2 separate regions of the Homo sapiens genome follow, and region 1 is linked to region 2. The links are contacts of gene promoters, found by promoter capture Hi-C in human tissues and cell types (Jung and others, 2019). All regions are on one chromosome and are shown on one strand. The core of a region is centred on a gene start or on the middle of the fragment in contact, and the rest is flanking DNA. Distances in the headings are between cores, read along the strand shown. Region 1 has its middle 4.5 kb from the start of RTP1. Region 2 holds the start of ST6GAL1 (ST6 beta-galactoside alpha-2,6-sialyltransferase 1).

Region 1 (4,710 bases), core at 149-2,648, 260 kb after region 2:
AAGGGGAAGGAAGCTGTCTTTTATTTTAGATCAAATATCCTGAAAATAGGGAAATTAGTTTTTGAGGACTTGATAATTTCTCTCAAGTATGCCCTTCTTCACTTCCTGGACCATGGCACTGTTCCCTTGGTAATATCCATAGAACATTTTCTGATGAATGCTCTTCTCAAAGACAAGATCTTGCACTTGAAAAAAAAAAAAAAAGCAGAGAGACTGGGCAGTAGTGCATGCCTGTAGTCTTAGAACTTTGGGAGGCTGAGGTGGGAAGATCACGTGAGCCCAGGAGTTTGAGACCAGCCGAGGCAACACAGTGAGACCCTACCTCTACAAAAAAAAAAAAAAAAAAAAAAAAAAAAAAAAAAAATTAAAAAATCAGCTGATCATGATGGTGCATGCCTGTAGTTCCAGTTATTTGGGAGGCTGATGTGGGTGGATCACTTGAGCCCAGGAGATCGAGGCTGCAGTGAACCATGATTGAACCACTGCACTCCAGTCTGAGTGACAGAGTGAGACCCTGTCTCAAAAAACAAACATAGAAAAAACAAAACACATAGACTGGGCACAGTGATGTGTGCCTATAATTCCAGCTACTCAGGAGGCTGAAAAGGAGGATTGCTTGAGCCTGAGAGCTCAAGAGTAACTTGGGCAACATAGACAGAACCCATCTCTGAAAAAAAAAAACACAGAGTTTTATGGGGATAAAACTTCAAGAGAATGAAGACTGGGGGACTTTGGATTTTGGGCTGTATATCTCTGAAGGGCCCTCGCTGATGGTAGGCACATATGCCTCACAAAATTGAGCAAGAGCTTGGAAAAGAAGTTCAATGGTTGCTGTTGGGGTGGAGGGGAAGCAAAGGAAGAGGTTCTTATAAATCATGACTGGGCATGCAGAGGTGGGTGGTACTGGCAGGCTGGGTACCTGTAATGCTTTCCTTTGCTTTGACCCAAAGGGAGCAGCCCTACTGTTCCTATCTGGCTATGTTTTGGGATTGGACTTGCTGGATTAGTTTACTCTTTGGCTACTTTGCCTTTTTGATCCTTAGTTTGCTTTTTTTTTTTTTTTTTTTTGCAAAATAATGTCAACCTCTACCTACATCATAGAATTGGACATCGTGTTCTCAAGGCACTAAGCTCTTTGAAGGATGAAGAAAAATAATCAGGTACTGTGGTAGAAAGTCTCCAAAGATGGCTGCCACCAATTCCTTCCCTTCCTATAGGCACAGGCAATTTCCCCATCAAGAGTTGAAGTTTATTTCCCATTCCCCTATATCGGGCTGGCCCTGTGATTGCTTTCATCAACAGAATATGACAGGAGTGATGTTATGGGACTTCTGACTCTAGCCTTAAGGAGGACTGGAAGCTTCCATTTATTCTTCCTAGAATGAATCTTCTTGGAAACAAACTACCATGTAGTGAAGAAGCCTGAGCAGCTAAAAGGAAAGACCCAAGTGGAGAAATACCATAATGGTGAATAAGGCATTATGAAAGTTCACAAATGGCAGAGGCATTGTGGAGAGGAAGGGAAGTCCATATTCACGGTAATTGTTTCTTCCAGTGAAAACAAAGGTCTATCCCTTCCTTGATGGAAATGGTCCAGTGTAATCAACTTGCCACCAGGTCGTTGGTTGTTTCCCATGGAATCATGGCCCAATCAATTGTTCAGTGTTGGTCTCTCTCTGTTTTTGGAATTTGGGCATTGTATTAGTCCATTCTTGCACTGCTAAAAAGAAATACCTGAGACTGGGTAATTTATTAATATAAAGAAAAGAGGTTTAATTGGCTCAGGGTTCCATAGGCTGTACAGGTAGCATAGCTGAGGAGGCCTTAGGAAACTTACAATCATGACGGAAGGTGAAGGAAAGCAGGCTTGTCTTACGTGGCTGAAGCAGGAGGAAGAGAGAGCGAAGGGGGAGGTGCTACACTCATTTAAACAACCAGATCTCATGAGAACTCACTCACTATCACCAGAAGAGCAAGGGGGAAATCCACCACTATAATCCAATCACCTCCCACCAGGACCCTCTTCCAACATTGGGGATTACAATTCAACATGAGATTTGGGTGGGGACACAAATCCAAACCATATCAGGCACTTAGCAGTGGATTTAGAGAATTCCTTATATACCATTGTGATATTCCATATAGCATTGCTTCTGACTGGCAACTCATTTCAAAGTAAAGGAAATCTGGCAATGAGCTCACACTCATGAAATTCATTAGTCTTAACTATATCACCCATAATCCTGAAGTAGTTGGCCTGATTGAACAATGTGGTGGTCTTTGGAAGACTCAGTTATAGAATCAGCTGGGGGACAGGACCTTGCAGGGCTAGGATAATGTTCTCCAGGATGTGGTACATGCTCAGAATTAGCAACCATGATGATATAGTGCTTAGTTCCAAGAATTAAAGGGTAGAATGGACTGGCTTTCTCAAAATTAGCCCTAATGGTAAACTAGTTTTTTTTCCCTTTTCTTTCTGTACCCATAACTTTGATCTCTGCTATTTTAGAAATCTTAGTACCCAAGGAAAAAAAATGTTGCCATTAGAGAAGAAAATTAAAAATTCCTTTAAAGTTGAGACTACTACATGGGCTCTTAATATCATTAAATCAACAGATGGAGGGGCTTACTGTTCTGGTCCAGCAATGTTGGGGCATTCTGGAAGGAAAGAGTCTTTGTTTTGGGACTGTGAGGCACATTTAGATCTTTGGTACAGGGTACCAGTAGAAACTTCCAGTCATGGGTCCAGCCCTAAAACACACCCCTCCTTCTTCTCAAATGCCATTTAGGGATAGAAAATTGTGCATAGTTGAGAATTTTTCATGAGTGCATCATTTCAAGAAAAAAAATTAGAGGCTTGTTTTTTCTTTTCATTGCTCTATTTTCTAGTTGGGAACTTAATTTAAAGCATTTTATCCACTTAAAACATGATCACAAACTTTAAGAAATTGACCAGGGTGAGGCCAACAGCTTTAGAGATGTCTGAATTGGCCTTCTCTAAATTGTAGATTCCATGGTGTTAGAGGTCATTTGATAGAGAGCAAGTTGCAATACCACAGTATTTTTTTCTGTCTTGATAGAAATTTTTATTAGAGAAAATACTCTGCTATCCAGAAGGATGCATTATATTGGCCTCTGCACAGCAAGCTTGGGTTCTAAATAAAACTTAATTTGTGCCAATGGGGATTGCATCAGCTGGTTACACACACACACACACTCACACACACACACACACACACCCCTCTGGTGATTCTTACTTTCTGTCTTCTGTCATCATAGTGTTTATTGTAGCAACACCTGCAAAATACTTCTAGAGGATTTGTTCTGGGTAGCACTGTTTGTTATAAGCTCCTCTCAGCTTCACGTATTTTCTGGGAAGGTCCACAGCCCCCATTCTCATTTTGGCCAGTAACTCCCACCTGAGGCAGTTCCCATCATATCTGTGAGGTTTGTTAAACGAGTTTACTTATTTAGGTGTTGGTTGCCTTAATTCAGAGGTAAGAATACTGACTTGAAGGACTGAAAGTTTAATGAAGGGTCCTGAAGAACTTAAGAGTTTTTCCCAATGCCGGCCAGGTGAGATGGCGCATGCCTGTGATCTTAGCACTTTGGGAGGTGGAGGCAGGAGGTTTGCTTGAGCCCAGGAGTTTGGGACCAGCCTGGGCAACACAGCAAGACCCCGTCTCTACATAAAAAATGGGTTTTCCAATGTTAATGTTCAGTGGCTTGATATATTTAATTTCTGTCCTTCTTGCTGTGTTCAGTACAAATCTAGTAGAGAAGCACCTCCCCAGAGATCGTCAACTATATAGCAGGCCCCAGGAAACAGAGCCTGGCTCCAGGCATTACCTGCCATGCCTCTTTAGAAGCTTCCCTCTTCCAACCAGTGGCCTCCATCCTACCTCCTGCCCTCCCAGGATTCAGTTTTCTAAGTATAAAGCTGTTTGAAACCATACATGACTGAAGTTAGAGGGGAGCTTACCTTTGTCATCTACCCTAATTCTTCATTGAACAGATGGACAAACTGAGGCCAAGGGAAATTAGTGGCTTGCCCAAGGTCACAATGTCAGCCAGGAGCAGAGCTGGGCTATGTGTCTCCTGACTCCCAGTTCAGTGCTCTCTCCATTGAGCCAAGATGCCTGGCATCAAATGATTGAGGCTTTACAGGGTTGCTGTGCCTAGAGATGACTTTCTGTACCATATTTTCTTTGGTAAGATTTCAAGCTAAATATCTCTCTCAGCTCTAAAATATTTATACCGAGTATCAGGGGTCTGTGGACACCATTGCTTCATTAAGTTTGGCAGTAGAGGCAGCATCCCCAGCAGTAGCAGGGAGCCTGGTGGGTCAAGTACAACTCACCCCTCTTCTGGGGAGATGTGGCCTCAGTGTGGGGGGGCCCCAGTGAACCATTTGCTGAAATGATATAAACTTCATTTGCAATTCTTGGGGTCTGTAACGGCCACGTGAGTGATGAAGAAACACACATTTAATTAGCAGATGTTATGTTCTAGATTCCACGCTGAGCATCACAATGGCTAAAGCTGGGGCTTTGTAGACAGTCATATAGGTTTAAGTCCCAGTTCAACTAGTTATTAGCTGTTAAATCTTGTGCAAGTTATCTAACCTCTAGACTTTAGCTCACATATCTGTAAAATGGAGCTGCTGCTGCTGTTACCTACCTGTCAAGTTTGTTATTGAATGAAATAAAT
Region 2 (4,836 bases), core at 572-3,071:
TCATGGGGGAAACCGCCCCCCACGATCCAATCACCTCCCAGGAGGTCCCTCCCCTGACACATGTGGATTACAATTCAAGATGAGATTTTTGGGTGGGGACACAGAGCCAAACCATGTCAGATCTCCAAATGGTAGCTATTATTTAGATGTCCTTTTCTTCTGTCTTGTTACAGTCACTGACACAGTTCAGGCTCTTATTATATCTCCATTGATGTCAGCTTCCAATCTAGTCTCTTGCATTCTCTGCTTCTGCCATCTATTTTCCAGTGTGGTGCCAGAGGAATCCTTGTAAAATACAAAGATGCATGTCATGCTACTGCACAGAATCTTTTAATAGCCTCCTTTTTTTTTTTCCCTTTTTCGAATAGGGCCTAAAATCTTCAATGTAGCATCCTTCCAGAAATAGTCTTCTGAACTTGGCTGCTTCTATTCATTCACGCATACATACATTTTACTGTCAGGAGCACCTTCTATATGCCAAACACTAAGCTACGTGTTTCACGTAGGTCATTTCACAGGATCCTGAAAACAACGCTTTCCTTAATATCTCCATTTTGCAGAAGAGGAAAGGGAGGCTCACAGGATGTGGAACTCACCCAAGAAGGCACAGCGAGTTGGTCATAAAGATTTGAATTCACTCTGGCTGGCACTCCCTTCAATTGGAGCTCTTTGTACTGAGCAAAAATGCCTCAGGGGCAGCAGGGAAGGGAATGACAGTATCAGCAGAAGGGAGCCAGGATCAGGACAGGGAGGAAGCAGTGTTTGGAAGAAGGGTGCTGGGGACAGGGTGCGGATGTAACTTCCCTTTCCAAGGTTGGTGATGTGGGGTAGGCACCTCATTTGGAGACAGAACTCTGGGCCTGGGCTTCAGGCACTTTAAGTGTGCACTGGACTTTGTGTTCCCAGAGGACCCCCAAACCTTCCAGTATCTCCTTCCTTTCCCCTTTCCCACCCAGCACACAGCCTGGTGCCTAGTGTGCACTCAGTAGACAACTGGGATATGACTATTGCCTCTGGTAGTCACATCCTCTCTTTGGGCTATGGGAGGCTGGACTGGAGGCCTTAAAGGCCCCTTCCGCCCTCCTGTTGGGCAGTTTTTCTTTCTTAGGGAAATCGCCTTGGGGCTATCGGGGATGGTCAGTACGCAGCTTGGTTAATCCTCTTTCCTTCCCCAGCAGCCCCACCGTCGTCCGGGTGAAAAGAAAGAACCTCGCTCCCTTCACCATCCAGGCTGAGGCTTCAGTCTTTCAGCCTGCAGCTTGGGGTGGAAGCCTCTGGGTGCAGGGGTTCGAGGACGCTCCTCTCCTTCTGTATTTGCCATTTGAGAGCGCCCAGTAGGAGTCATGCCTCAATGTTAGGAGGTTAATGCCAAACGCAGTGAAAGATTTTGTTCTTTCCTATTCTAGATAAGAGCAACACGAGTCTTCGGAGAGGTTAAGCGACTTCCTCAGGGTCTCGCAGTCAGCCGGTAGCAGAGACCGGGTGTACAGCACCCGCATGTTAGGACCAAAAGCCGGACACTGCTGGATTGACCCCTCGCGGCCAAGCGGGGAAGAGGCATTTAGGGGTCCTTGCGCAGCCGCGTGGCCCCTCCCACTCGGCCCTCGATCCACCCTCCTTGAGAGCAGGCAGGATTCTAGCATCACCCAGTGCCTTCATCAAGAGTCTTTAACCCCAAGCCCGCTCGCTAGCGACCTCCAGGCCGGTTTGGGGCGCGGTGTGGCCGGTGGCGAGAGGTGGAGTGGGGGCGGAGACCGACCCAGTCTTCGCAACTCTATTTGCATACGGAGGCGACTCGCTTCCTTCCCGCCCCTCCGCCGCGCTCTTCTTCCTTCCTTCTCCAGTCCCTTCCACTGTGCGTCTTCTGTCCCCCGTTCTTCCCCAGCGGACCCCTCTTTCGAGACTCCCTAGTGGGGTCCCCAGCTCCCGGGCGATCCTGCCCTTGCCGAGCGCGTTTTCTGGAGTCACCTGGGGGAGGGGAGTCCTGGGCAGGGCCGGGCTGGGGAAGACGCCTGGGGCACTGCCCGGCGTTAACAAAGGGAGCCGATACCGACCGGCGTGGGCGCGGAGCGGGCGGCCGCCACCGAGCGTGCTGAGCAACCGCAGCCTCCGCGGCCGAGAGTGCAGCGAGTGAGTAGGGGGTGCGGTGGGCGGCGGCGCGGCCCGGGCTATCCCGGGAGGAGTGTGATGCAAAGGGGCGCGGGAGGATAGCGGAGGCGCGGGGCCCGCGGCGCGCGTAGGGCGCAGGGAATCTCTCTCCAGCTCCGCCTCAGCTGCCTTGGCTCCGGGGCTGGCCGCCTTTTGGTTGGGGGTGTGTGCATTTTTGTCAGGGCCAAAGGGCCACCCTGGCTTCTCTCTGGCTCCGCGAGCCTGCGGATCCACAACAAACCCACGTGCGCACAGCCCCGGGGAACACGGATTTCTCCACGGCACCGTCAGTATGGGGTGGGGTGGCGTGGGGGCATTGCGCCTTGCAGAGTCTGGGTTTACGGATCGACAAATTGAGGCCCGCGGCAGCGGAGGGGGCACAGGCACCATAACAAACGCACGTGCGCCCTGCCCGGAGAGCTGGACGCACTGCATACCCTTAGGGGCCGCCCTGCGGTGCCGGGCCATTGTCTCAGCCTCGGGGGAGGGAGTGGCTCTAGAGGCGCCACTTGCTGGAAGAGGGCGAGAGAGACATTTAAAAGGTACCGCTTGGGCATCAGACTAAACTGCCAGACTTAAAAAGGGAAACCAAAACAAGAAAGCAGCTACAAAAAGGTTACTCCAGGCTGAGTCGGTCCCCGGCCGTGGCGCATTCTTTTGGGTGAAGTGGACCACCCCTCACCTTCACCTCCTGGAGGTCTCTTAGAGATGTGGGTTGGGTTAAGGGTCTAAGGGTGCCCCTCAAAAAAAGAGAGTGCTGGGTGCACTATTGTCCCCGCACTCCGGCGATTGCCTCTGTGGGGATATTTTGGTCGCCTCCTCAGCCTGCGGGAAGAATGTACGAGTCGCCCAGTGCGGTCTTGCTCTTTGCCTCTGAGGCCCGTGTCCGTGTGCCCAGACACCCCAGATGTCACTAGCCCCTTTTGGCTTGTTAATGCATTTTCGCAAGCAAGGCCAGCCGAGACCTCGTATTCTAGCTGGGGACGTACAATTTTCAGTTCTGAGTTTATTTGAAAGAAATTCCGAGGTCCGGAAAAAGAGAACTCTTGTTTGTTTTGCTTTTTCTTTGCTTACATATGCTCAGCTCAGCTTTGCAGATGTTAATCGGACACGATCTGCAGCGGGGAGATGGTTTCGCGGTGAATTGGTCTCTGAGGCGATGGTGTTGGTGCAGGTTGTGGGCGTGCAGTGTGAGCAGGAATGGAGGCGCCGCCGCCCCAGTGTGTGCCTGCTGAGCGGGCGGGCTGCTGCCTCACCTTGGCTAGTGTGGCTGAAGATTAACCTGTCCCCGGGGGGGGAACTGGAGAGCCTCCAATCCTATTCCGCTGTTATTGAAAAGGTCTAGAGAGCATCTAGGGAGCCTTCTCATTTTACAGGCAGGAAGCTGAGGCCGGAGAGTTCAGCCACTTGTCCAAGTTTAAACCGGGTGAAACGGGCCACAGAGAGAACACTTGAGTGTGGGTCTCCCAACTCCCACTGCATCGCTCAGCGGGCAACTAAAGGCAAAACCGGGATTCTGTGATTGGCCTAAAAGGCAGTGGCCTTAGGCAGAATAGGGTGAAACAAAGAGTAATTCAAATAGAAAGCTGCACCCTTCCATTATCCCTTTCAAGAATTCTTTATTCTGTTGAGAAAAAATAGATTTAGTAATTCCTTACTCTCCTTCAAGCCTTTCAAAAGCTTAGTTATTTTTCTCTCCTGGCTGCCCCTTCCCCTCAAATTGGAATAAGGCCAGCTACGGAGACTCAGATGTTTTGCCTCTCATCCTTGTGCCAGGAGGCCTTTGTTTGGGCAAAAGCATGGGCTGTTGACATCAGCCCCACGGGGAAGAAAGTGTGTCTTAGCAAGCTACTCCTGAGCCACTTGTGGGAGAACAAAGCATTGTTTTCACTGATCTTATTAAAGTTACTTTTTTTTTAACGAGAGTCCCATGGAAGTAGCTGCTTATTTTTGTATTTGGCAGAGAAGTAGGAAAACCAAAAAAACACTGAGAAGCCGGATTTCCCCAAAGTTAACATGTTGTTTTGCACTGTGCCTGTTATCTCCTAGTTACACTTGTTTCTTTTCCTTAGAGTTTCCAGCGTGTTTCACTTTCAATGTGATTCTGGTAGCAACAGGAGGCAGCTGGATGCCTAGGCAGATAGGGTCAGGTACCCGGTGAAACCCCCACCTCCAGGCCAAAGACAGTTTAAAGCCTGAAAGCCAAGCTACGAGTTAAATCCTCAGACCAGAGTGAGAACTTGTTTGGCGTGCTTTCCCCTAATTGATTCCTACATTTCGCCTGTTTTACATATACCCACTTTTTCCTAATTGGTTTTCTACGCTGCCGTGCCCACCTTTGAGTGGTGTCTTTGCTTTCATCTTTTTTGCATACTCACAAACCGGTCAGCATGCACTCCCTATTCTGAGTCCATAAAAGGCCCCTGACCCAGCCACATTGGGGAACTTTTCCGTCTTCAGGTAGGGGACCAACCCGGTGTCCCCTCTCTGCTGAAAGCTGTTTTCAACACTCAATAAAATTCTTATCTGCCTTCCTCTCCCTTCAATGTCCAGTGTATCCTCATTATCCTTTGGTGTGGTGCACGAGCTCGGAACCACCGAACGCGGGTACAAGCTATAATACAGTGAGCTGGGACACACCTGCATGGCCGAGCGAGCACAGGTGGGGCATTGCTGGCCCGAGGACCA

What was found. The method cuts DNA at HindIII sites, captures the fragments that hold promoters and counts their contacts. A contact is called where the count stands out against the background at its distance.
Region 1: a contact is called between a fragment that was not itself captured here and the fragment with the promoter of ST6GAL1 in region 2, in 1 of the 25 tissues and cell types used here (thymus).

What each region holds. Positions count from the first base shown.
Region 1 is chr3:187,190,610-187,195,319 of GRCh38, forward strand. No RefSeq gene overlaps it. Among named protein-coding and RNA genes, the nearest start is that of RTP1, 4.5 kb to the right of the region's middle. The HindIII fragment of the contact is 6,597 bases long and covers 1-4,697 here.
Region 2 is chr3:186,928,705-186,933,540 of GRCh38, forward strand. It overlaps ST6GAL1 (ST6 beta-galactoside alpha-2,6-sialyltransferase 1), which reads left to right and starts at 1,822. Exons shown (of 8, transcript NM_173216.2): 1 at 1,822-2,130. RefSeq lists enhancers at 1,437-2,045, 4,139-4,188, 4,209-4,268 and silencers at 1,733-1,812, 2,053-2,242. The HindIII fragment of the contact is 4,331 bases long and covers 1,716-4,836 here.